Linked DNA regions of Homo sapiens: region 1 is linked to region 2. The links are contacts of gene promoters, found by promoter capture Hi-C in human tissues and cell types (Jung and others, 2019). All regions are on one chromosome and are shown on one strand. Each heading gives the region's core, a stretch centred on a gene start or on the middle of the fragment in contact. The rest is flanking DNA. Distances are from core to core; before and after follow the strand shown.

What was found. The method cuts DNA at HindIII sites, captures the fragments that hold promoters and counts their contacts. A contact is called where the count stands out against the background at its distance.
Region 1: a fragment that was not itself captured here is called in contact with the fragment with the promoter of TMPRSS7 in region 2 in 1 of the 25 tissues and cell types used here (bladder).

What each region holds. Positions count from the first base shown.
Region 1 is chr3:111,861,907-111,867,053 of GRCh38, forward strand. All of the region lies in intron 1 of PHLDB2 (pleckstrin homology like domain family B member 2), which reads left to right. Among named protein-coding and RNA genes, the nearest start is that of PHLDB2, 5.2 kb to the left of the region's middle. The HindIII fragment of the contact is 7,266 bases long and covers 1-5,147 here.
Region 2 is chr3:112,033,174-112,038,524 of GRCh38, forward strand. TMPRSS7 (transmembrane serine protease 7) reads left to right here and starts at 1,563. Exons shown (of 18, transcript NM_001395507.1): 1 at 1,563-1,720; 2 at 4,899-5,148. The coding sequence starts at 1,673. The HindIII fragment of the contact is 15,104 bases long and covers 1-5,351 here.

The sequences.
Region 1 (5,147 bases), core at 281-2,780, 170 kb before region 2:
CCTCGGCTCACTACAACTTCTGCCTCCTTGGTTCAAGCCATTTTCCTGCCTCAGCCTCCCGAGTAGCTGGGATTACAGGCGCCTGCCACCACACCTGGCTAATTTTTCTATTTTTAGTAGTGACAGGATTTTGCCATGTTGGTCAGGCTGGTCTCAAACTCTTAACCTCAGGTGATCCACCTGCCTTGGCCTCCCAAAGTACTGGGATTACAGGCATGAGCCACCACACCCGGTCTCCTTTTAAATATTTTTAAAGGAGTAGTTAACGTTATGGCTTTATATCCTGATTTTCAACCCTTAGCAGGGAGGCAGTGCTATGGTGCTGTGGATGGCTTAGAGTGACAGTGGCTTTGTACATTTTCTAGGTGGAGTACCTGTGCCTTATGAATCTATCTGTAAAGTCTTGGTGTACCAATTGTTGATTGTGTAAATGTCACTCTTTTGAAACAAAAACACCTAAGTGATGTGCTTTATCTTAAAGTCCTGACATACATTAGAGCTGTGGTTTTCACTGGGAGAGGGGTTTTGGCCCCCAGAGGATACTGGCAACGTATTTTTGGTTGTAGCAACTGACAGGAGGAGAGTGCTACTGCCATATAGTGGGTAGAGGCCTGGGATGCGGTTAAGCACCCTGCCATGCACGGGACACAAAAACAATTATGCAGCCCCAAACCCTGCACTACAGTATTGCCTGGGGGAGTAGGTTAACAAGATTAGGCATCTTAATCTGATTTGGATCCTCAAGAAACTTGTTTAACTGTGTTAAACAAGAGACCCTTATCATAGAAGCCGTTTTGTATGCAGCAGATTCTTTTGTCCTTGCCATTTAGAGTCTTAATATACCATAGAGGTCGAGGAACTTGTGTTCATTGACAACTTTGAGATGGATTAAAGTCATGGGATTTGGGAGCATTAGAGCACAAGGGAGCCTCAGAGATCACTTAATTTCTACCCCTTCTTTTTATAGATGTAAAAAACTGAGACACTCAGAGCTTTAGGACTCATAAGGTCTCAAGCGAGCTAAGGGCGGGCAGACAAAGTTCTAGGTACAACCCAGGAGTTAAAAATTTTAAAATAGAGATTCAGGCAAATGGGAACAAAAAACAAAACACACTGGACCTGACCTTGTGTAAAAGTTTCAAAGCACCATTCCCTGTGAGAAAATAAATAAATGCTTCGATGGGGGAGGGGTGGCATTAGCCATAGAGACTGTGGGGCACGTGCCTGGGTGCCCCAGTCCCAGAAAGGGGTAATTCCATTATATGACCTGTGACACTCCACTTCTGATGCCTGTACTGTCCTTTCCATGGCAAAGTAGGCAACAGATGGTTCCACAGACATAGCAGATGTTGCTTTTGAATCCAGGTACAAAACAGAACATTTGAGATTTTCTGTTCCTCCCTGCCTTATCGGTTAAGAGTAGAGTACATGAATGGATAGGGCTGGCTTGGACAGAAGGGAGAATTACAGAGGCCTCCTGAGTATGGAAGAAAAAAAGACACCTGGCATATATGGAAATGAGCAAGTGTTGGGGAAATTGTGGGAGAAATTCATAAGCTGATGAGGGGATATCTAATATAAATTCAATTGCATAGAACTAGGATTAAGAATCAGAAGACAATTCAAGCTTAGCTATTCTTTCAGCATGTAGAACAAAATAACTATGGGGGTAAAAGGAACCTTAGAAATCCTCTTATCTGAATCTTTTCCCTCCAACCAACTAACTGGGTTAGATAGCGGCAGAATCTGCAAGCCTCCTGTTCTATTGTACTTTCTCCTGCACCCACAGTCTCTACCATTCCATGTGTTTACCTAATGGGAAAGAAAATGATAGTAAAGAAAGTTATTGTTAATTACTTGGGAGAGTTTAAAAAGCATGGTATTTGTGAATGGCTGTTTATAGAAAGGAGTTACCTTAATGAGTTTATGATTATCAGAAAAGTTGTACACCATAGCCTGATTAATTACAAACATGTATACTCTCCTGTTTACATTGCTATGGTTAGCCATTAGGCTCATGATTATAGATTCTAGTTCTGGGTGCCAAGCTGTCCTCCTGTGGTAGTTATTTTATCTAATACTCAAATCTGACAGGTTCTGGCCATATAGGAAAGTTTTTAGTATGCCTTTGGTGGGAGACATAAAACCTCTGAAAAGTGTTAAGATAGTTTCTTATCATTTTGACAACTAGCCAAAGGGTGCACCTCAAAGCCAAGTACATAGTGATATATTTAGAAATGACTCAAGAGTGATAGCCCTTTTAAGGGATCTGCCCCCCCGCAGGTACTATGCAAAAGGGGTGTAGCAGTCTTTTCATTATCATCTTTCATCTGGCCATTCTTGTTACTGTTTTTCAGATGATGGGAGAGGAGACAGGAGTAGTTTTTAAAAAAATAACTGTTGGCTAGAAATATTTATTGGGATTTGATTAAAGTAACTTGTCTTTTAAAAATAAATGAAACCAAAATTGTTAGCTCAGATTTTCAAATCCCTTCAAAGTAAACATTTAGCAAGGCAGAACTTCTCTCTATGTTCATCCAGGAATTTGAACCTTCTGGGAGTTAATTTGCTTACAGTTGTTTTCATGACGCTTAAGGATGTTTCTTAGACATTGCAGAAAAGGAGCTTTGTGCTGTATCTGCTTTAAAGGCAAGATAGTTGTCTATAGCAGCTAGTGGTCAATAAGAGAAACCCAAGTGTAAAAATCATTTTACTGTTGTGTGGGAAACTAGAGGTTGTAGGTAATTGCTATACAAAGAAACAGATTAATAAGATATAGAGTAACAGGGTTAGTCAAAAAGTTTTTGAGAGGATTTTTACAGGAGATACTTGTTTAGTGTGTTAGGTTGATTTTATTAGATGAAGTGCTTTTCCTTACTTTACAAAGTAAAAGGAAAGAAAATATTGTGTATGCCACTGTTTATCGATGGCCTTAAGCCAGGTCAGCTTTTTCTGAGACTTGCTGCTAATTCAGTGGGAATTGGTGTTGATCATCTTAGAATGTTTTGTTTGCACATTGCATGTGACTGCCCTAGATGGCAGTATGTTCATGGAACTAGCCTATGAAATAGCAAAAAAGTTAAAGATTACAAGAGTTTTCCAAGATTTCTTTCTTGACCACCCTACTGCTAAAACAAGGAAAGATAAAGGCAAAAGAAACCCAGCTCCTACATTCTTTTGACCAGTGCAGACCCAGTGTGAATAGTGCCGCACAGCCAAGAGATATTCAGAGGGGATTGAGAAGTGATGTCTGGCTGCCTCACTGCTTACGTCATTGCAGAAGTAGCTTTTCAAAAACAGCTTAAGATTTATTAAGGAAACTGCAAGCCATGGGAATGCAGACAAAACCTTTCTTATACATCATGCTCAATCAAATACCCATATTATATTACATTACCATAACTCTGACCAGGCCTTTTTCCCACTATGTTATGCTAAAACAATTTACCATGCCTTTGGAATGTCATGGGCAACAGTCCGGTGAAATCTTTTCCCAATTAGGTAGCTGCCACCTTATCACTAAAACTATTTCTGTTCTGTGGTCATTTCCATTTCCTGCATTATGTAATGAGCACTCCTGTGTTATTTAACCAGTATCTGTGGGAGTCCAGAAAGTTGGAGCAGAAAGAACATGTAGTTCACTCTCACCATGTTGAGTATGGAGAAACTCCTGTTGAAACAAAATGAAGACAGGCGAATTGACGTGCTCCAGATCTTAGTTCTGTTAGCAGAACCAGAACTAAGATGGATCTTCTGACTTGCTTCCCTGGCAGCCTATCCAGTGTTCTTTCTACTAGATTGGCCACTGTAATAAAAATAACATCCTAACGTAACCATTTCCTTTATTAGATCTTTTGGCCAGAGTTATTAAAAAAAAAGCATTGATTAAAATTAAATTAAACTTAGTCAATTGTTTATCTTGACTTGTTCAAGTTATTTCCCTTCTTTCAAGCAGTAAGTGGTCAAAAGGTAGATAGCATGGAAGGGAAAAATTAAGTGTTTTATAATACTCATTCTGCACAATCAGCTGCTAAGTAATGAAGATATGATATTATCATAATTATTATTTTTACTTTACAATATTTTAGAAACCTACCCCACCCACTCATTTTTTTTTTTTTTTTTTTTTTTTGGAGACAGAGTTGCTCTGTCACCCAGGCTGGAGTACAGTGGTGCGATCCAGCTCACTGCAACCTCGGCCTCCCAGGTTCAAGTGATTATCCTGCCTCAGCCTCCCGAGTAGCTGGGATTACAGGCATGCACCACCACACCCAGCTAATTTCTGTACTTTAATAGTGATGGGGTTTCGCCATATTGGCCAGGGTGGTCTCAGACTCCTGACCTTTGGTGATCTGCCCACCTCAGCATCACAGAGTGCTGGAATTACAGGCATGAGCCACCGAGCCCGGCCTCATGTACTCAATTTGTGATGTAAAGCGAAATGCATTACAAACATGGAAGATGTGGTTGACCTGTGTTTGTTCCACCTCTTGTGAGCCTGTTTGTACCCTGACTATTCCCAGTTCATAAATCTTGGGTTAGGGAATGGGAATTCCAGCAAGTATTTAGGTCTGGGGAATGTTACTTTGGAAAAATTAAATATTACTCTTAAGGGAGTGTCTTTTGATCAGTAGTGTGGGATGGGGCAGGATGGCGGCAAGATCGGAGAGTTTCCCTCCCATACACTCTCCTCAGCTTCCAGTTAAAGTCCACGGAGGTGGTTTCAGGGTCAAGAGAGAGCATCTTTATCTACATATGATCCCCAGGTTGATAATTCTCTTGCTTGAAATTAGCTTTGAGATCAAAAGATCAGAGGGTGCTTTTCCCTGTAGCACTCCTGTGATTAAAGAAGAGTATCTGAAGTTAGTTATCCCATGATTCTGCACTTCACTGGGTGATTACGTAGTAAAGGAAGACCCTTCTAGCTTTACGGGGGACTTGATCAGGATCCTTGGTTAGGATTCTGTGAAGAACTTGACCTAAAGAGCTCCTCCACTCTCTTCCTTAACATAAGTTTCTAAGGGGTGTGTGTGTGTGTGTGTGTGTGTGTGTGTGTGTGTGTGTGTATTTTAACCTTTTAATTGAGGCTGGAATTCTTGATATGGAGGGTTTGACAGTTTTATGAAGAAATCATTATTTGGGCACGC
Region 2 (5,351 bases), core at 313-2,812:
AGGCTGTAAAGACAGATTTTCTTCAGCACTGTTGCAACGGGAGAAAGTGAATTCGATATAGAGCTGAACTCAGTTCCAAATACAGCAAAGAAAGCTGGGGATTAGTAGTCAATGAAGAGAGTGAGGGGGTCCATGGTTGGAAAATTACTAAGGGGAAACACCAAGGGGCATCCTTGCTAAACTGACCAATCAGGATTCTTGTTACAGGCAGCCAAGGACTTACATATCAAGGGTAGGGGATAAAGAACTTGATCAGATATCAAGGGTATTTCAAGGCCACTCTTGAATCAAAAAAAAAAAAAAAAAAAAAAAGAAAGAAAGAAAGAAAGAAAAGAAAAAGAAAGCAAAATCAAGGGTGATCAGATATCAAGGCGGGGGGATTCCTGCTAAACTGACCAGATGGGCCAAAGACAAGGCCCAAGGACAAGGTCTAGTTGAAAAGAGAGCTCAGAGTAACCTGACAACACTTTGGTCAAGAAGAGAGTCTTTGTCAATGGCCACCGATAAGTATACAAATTTTACTTATATTGGTGAAATATGAGTTAGTTCTAGAAATAGGTAGAGAAATAATACTGGAAAGATGAGCCATTAAAAGTAATATTATAAAGTCTAAACCATTATTAATAATTTCATCAATGTGAATAATAAATAACAAAACCCAAGAGGCGAATTTGTACATGACTTAATTCTTTTTTTTTTTTTTTTTTTTTTTTTGTTATTCTGTCTCATCTTCCCCAAGTTAGATCAAATTTCAGGTATGAAGCAACTCAACTAATCTTTCCCCACTTTCAGCAGGCAGTTTCTCACTTGCCATATGCACAGCCCGTGAATGATGCTGAAGTTTGTGTCTGGATCAGCAGAACAGTGTTTCTCCTTTAAAGCGTGACAGATCAGCTTTCTGTTGACACCCAGTGCCCACAGGGTGATGAGGTTCCAGCAATCCCTGCCTTTTTCTCCCCGTCTGCTAAGAGAAATTCTGACACTGCCCCTCAGGATTGGATTATTCTTCCCACCATGGATCTAATTCAGATTGACATTGGGAAGTATGGGAGAGATGGAAACAGGGGCTTTACAGCAGAAAGGGCCCCAGGTTTACTGAGGACTGACTGCAAGAAGTAGGGGGAGCTAAATGGAAAAAAGTCCCTTTGGATTATGAGTTCTCAGAGAGTATGGCTGGAGAGTTGAGAGCAGGACTGAAGAGTGAGTCTCCTGGAGCAGGCAAGAGATGCCACGCAAGAGAAATGAGGTGTGAGGACTTCTCAGATGTGGTGCTGAGGGTTGTAAATTAGACCTCTTCATATTCTTTAGGAGATGCAAGAAAAAAATTATAATGATTTTTAAATGTTACTGGATTGTAGGATTGTGTTTCTTATAAGAAAACCTTGCCTTGAGGCTGGCTGTACTCTGAGAGGCCTGACTCCTATGAAAGTTACATTGAGAATCCTTGAGTTTGGGGTGCAAAGCTGAGTGCTAGGTCCCTTTAACATTTACAATATAGCAATGAGGCGGCTTCAGTTTCTGAACTGAACCCGGTGGAGGTAAATTGATTCCACTCCTCTGAAAGCTAGCTTGAATGCGGTGACGGTTCTCTCAATTCTTCTCAAGAGAGCATATAAGGGGCAAAAACTGGCTTTGAGACACCCCTGGATGATCACACACAAAACGCCTAATAATGGACAAAGAAAACAGCGATGTTTCAGCCGCACCTGCTGACCTGAAAGTAAGTACAGGGTGAGAAACTTTCTCTTACTTGAATGCCATTTATTGTTGACCCTGTTAGTAAAATGAGATTGTATGACCTTATAAACATAAAGGAAACAATAATAAAATATTTTATCTTCTTATGGTAATTAATGGGTTTTACAAATGTGAGCTTATTATAAAGTGCTGTACTTGGCAATTGATTTGTAGCCGTTTTTCTAAAACTCCAGGGAAATTGTACTGATCTCTACACAAATTCCATTTTAAAATTTAATCAGTGCTAACTGAGACTGCCTATAATGTGTTTCTGCACTTAAAAGATCCAAACTTGGCTTTGTCAGTTCAACATGTACTGGCATTTCTGCGTGTTTCTTTATTTCTTTTGGGGGAGCACTTGAAAGTAGCTTGATACCATCGACAACTCATTCTACAATGGAATGTTTCTCTCTTTAGAAACCCAGTCCTCATTCCTGCAGGACACCACATTAAATGATGTCTGGTCTAGTTCAATTTCACCAGAAAGGATACAAGCAACACTTCACTCCAGGGGTTGACAAGGTGTTTGGCAAAAAGAATGAAGGGGCCATGAATAATTCAGAGTGTACGTGGCCACGTATTATCCCATTAATTGGCAAGATTAAAGACTGGAGGGCATGAATTTTGAAGAGAAGAGTGAGGGAGAGGAAAAGAGAAGGAGAGAACTCTTAAGGACAGTGCAAAAGAGAGATTATTTCTTTGGCATTGGCATTCCATATTGTTGCCTTTAAAAGAATGTGTGGTTAAAAGCTATTTCGTCTCTGGAGTTTAGTTACCCTGACTTGTATAAATCTCTCCTTAAATGAAGCTAAACTCTTGAATACATTATTAAAGAATTCACAGCATCAAATAGCAGAGGGTAGACAAGAAAATAAAAGAGGAGGAAGGGAAACAATTAAATAATGTATTTTTTACTCTTGCACATAACACTATGCACATCAATACACTTAAACCAACAATTTTCTAATCTAATGAGTGTTCTATTTCATTCTTCCATTTACTTTTAAATAATTATTTCATTTATAATTGAGAAACTGTGGCTGGCAATGGCAGCGGCTGGCAATGGCAAAACAAACATATTTAATTCCTATAAACCCACAACCCTACAACCGTATGTAAACACACATGCTTTACGAACAATTTGTGCAGTTACAAATTGCACAAATTTGTACAATCTATGCAAATTATCATATCACCTTTACTTTTCCTTCCTACCACCCAGTCATGAAGCTGTAACTAGGAAATCAATTCATTTCTGTGGGGAACTCACTTATCTTCTTATTTTCAATCCTGCATCAGCCCAGAAATAATTGATTGTGAGAGAAAAACAATATAATACAAACATGTGAAACACACACATATACTAAAAGGACTGTGGACAGGCATAGTGGCTCACACCTGGAATCCCAGCACTTTGGGAGGCCAAGGTGGGTGGATCACCTGAGGTCAAGAGTTCAAGACCAACCTGACCAACATGGTGAAACCGCATCTCTACTACAAATACAGAATTAGCCAGGTGTGGTGGTGAGTGCCTGTAATCCCAGCTACTTGGGATGCTGAGGCAGGGGAATCGCTGGAACCCATGAGGCAGAGGTTGCAGTGAGCCAAGATCACTCCATTGCACTCCAGCCTGGTCAATAAGAGCAAAACTCTGTCAAAAAAAAAAAAAGGAGGGGGGAGGGGCTGTGTACACACATGATTCTACCCACATAGAATCTTAACCTTAACCTCCTAACCTTCAAGTCCTCTAATCTACTTTACCCCATGAAATTCAGGCCTCTCCTCCACAGCATCTATTCAACAGAGTTGGAGAGTTGAGGAAAGAACCTAGAAACTGTTGCGGGAAGTCAGCGACCCTGAATGGAGGGAATTGCTGAAGCCATGGCAGAAGAACATAAATTGTGAAGATTTCACGGACATTTATTGGTTCCCTAAATTAATACTTTCATAATTTCTTACGCCTGTCTTTACTGCAGTCTCTGAACATAAATTGTGAAGAGTTCATGGACATTTATCATTTCCCCAATCAATACTCTCATAATTTCCTATGACTGTCTTTACTTTAATCTCTTAATCCCGTCATCTTTGTAAACTGAGGATGTATGTAGCCTCAGGACCCTGTGATGATTGCGTTAACTGCACAAATTGTTCGTAAAGCATGTGTGTTTGAACAATATGAAATCTGGGCACCTTGAAAAAAGAACAGGATAACAGCAATGTTCAGGGAACAAGGGAGATAACCATTGGGTCTGACTGCCATGCAGGACAGAGCCATATTTCTCTTATTGCCAAAAATGGGTAAGAGAAATATCGCTAAATTCTTTCCCCAGTAAGGAATATTAATAATTAACAGCCCTGGGAAAAGAAAGCATTCCCAGGAAGAGACCTCTAAAATGGCCGTCTAGGAGTGTCTGCCTTATGCAGTTGCAGATAAGGGATGAAACACACCCTAGTCTCCTGCAGCACCCCCAGGCTTGCTAGGATTAGGAAATTCCAGGTTGGCGAATTCTAGTCAGACCAGTTCTCTGCTCTTGAACCCTGTTTCCTGCTAAGATGTTTATCAATGACAATGTGTGCCCAGCAGGATGTGGACCTTCATTAGCAATGCTAGTTTCACCCTGACCTTGTGATCTTGCTCTGACCTTCTGCCTTGTGATATTTTATTGCCTTTGAAGCACGTGATCTCTGTGGCCCACACCCTATTCATACACTACCTCCCCTTTGAAAATCGCTAATAAAAACTTGCTGGTTTTGTGGCTGAGGGGGCATCATGGAACCTGCCGACATGTGATGTCTTCCCCGGACACCCAGCTTTAAAATTTCTCTCTTTTGTACTCTTTCTCTTTATTTCTCAGACCGGCCGACACTTAGGGAAAATAGAAAAGAACCTACATTGAAATATCGGGGGCTGGTTCCCCCAATAGAAACCATTTCACTAGGGTTTGTATACAGTAATGTCTAGTTTATCTGATCTTAATTTTGTGACTTGGTGCAAATCAAGTTATTATACTTATGTAAATAATTTGATATACTTACATAAATATGAATGCTTAAATAGTCATATTTAGGCCTTTTAGTACCAACATCTCCTGACTGGGTAGTTTCATTTAAGATCCTGTCTACTTCTACTTGGTAACATATCTTATTTCTTTTTTTTGAAGATATCCAATATCTCAGTCCAAGTGGTCAGTGCCCAAAAGAAGCTGCCAGTGAGACGACCACCGTTGCCAGGGAGACGACTACCATTGCCAGGAAGACGACCACCACAAAGACCCATTGGCAAAGCCAAACCCAAGAAGCAATCCAAGAAAAAAGTTCCCTTTTGGAATGTACAAAATAAAATCATTCTCTTCACAGTATTTTTATTCATCCTAGCAGTCATAGCCTGGACACTTCTGTGGCTGTATATCAGTAAGTTAAAAATCTGTGTTTCTTTGGGGTTAGGGCTTATGGTATGAGTCCAGCATTAGCAATGCAGCCCTAATCTGCCATAGGTATTTCTGATGGGATTTTCCTTTTTCCAATATGGATACACCATTTCCAAAACTGGTGTTGATGGTTTTTTATTATTTTGTTTTGAGACAAGGTCTTGCTCTGTCACCCAGGCTGGAGTG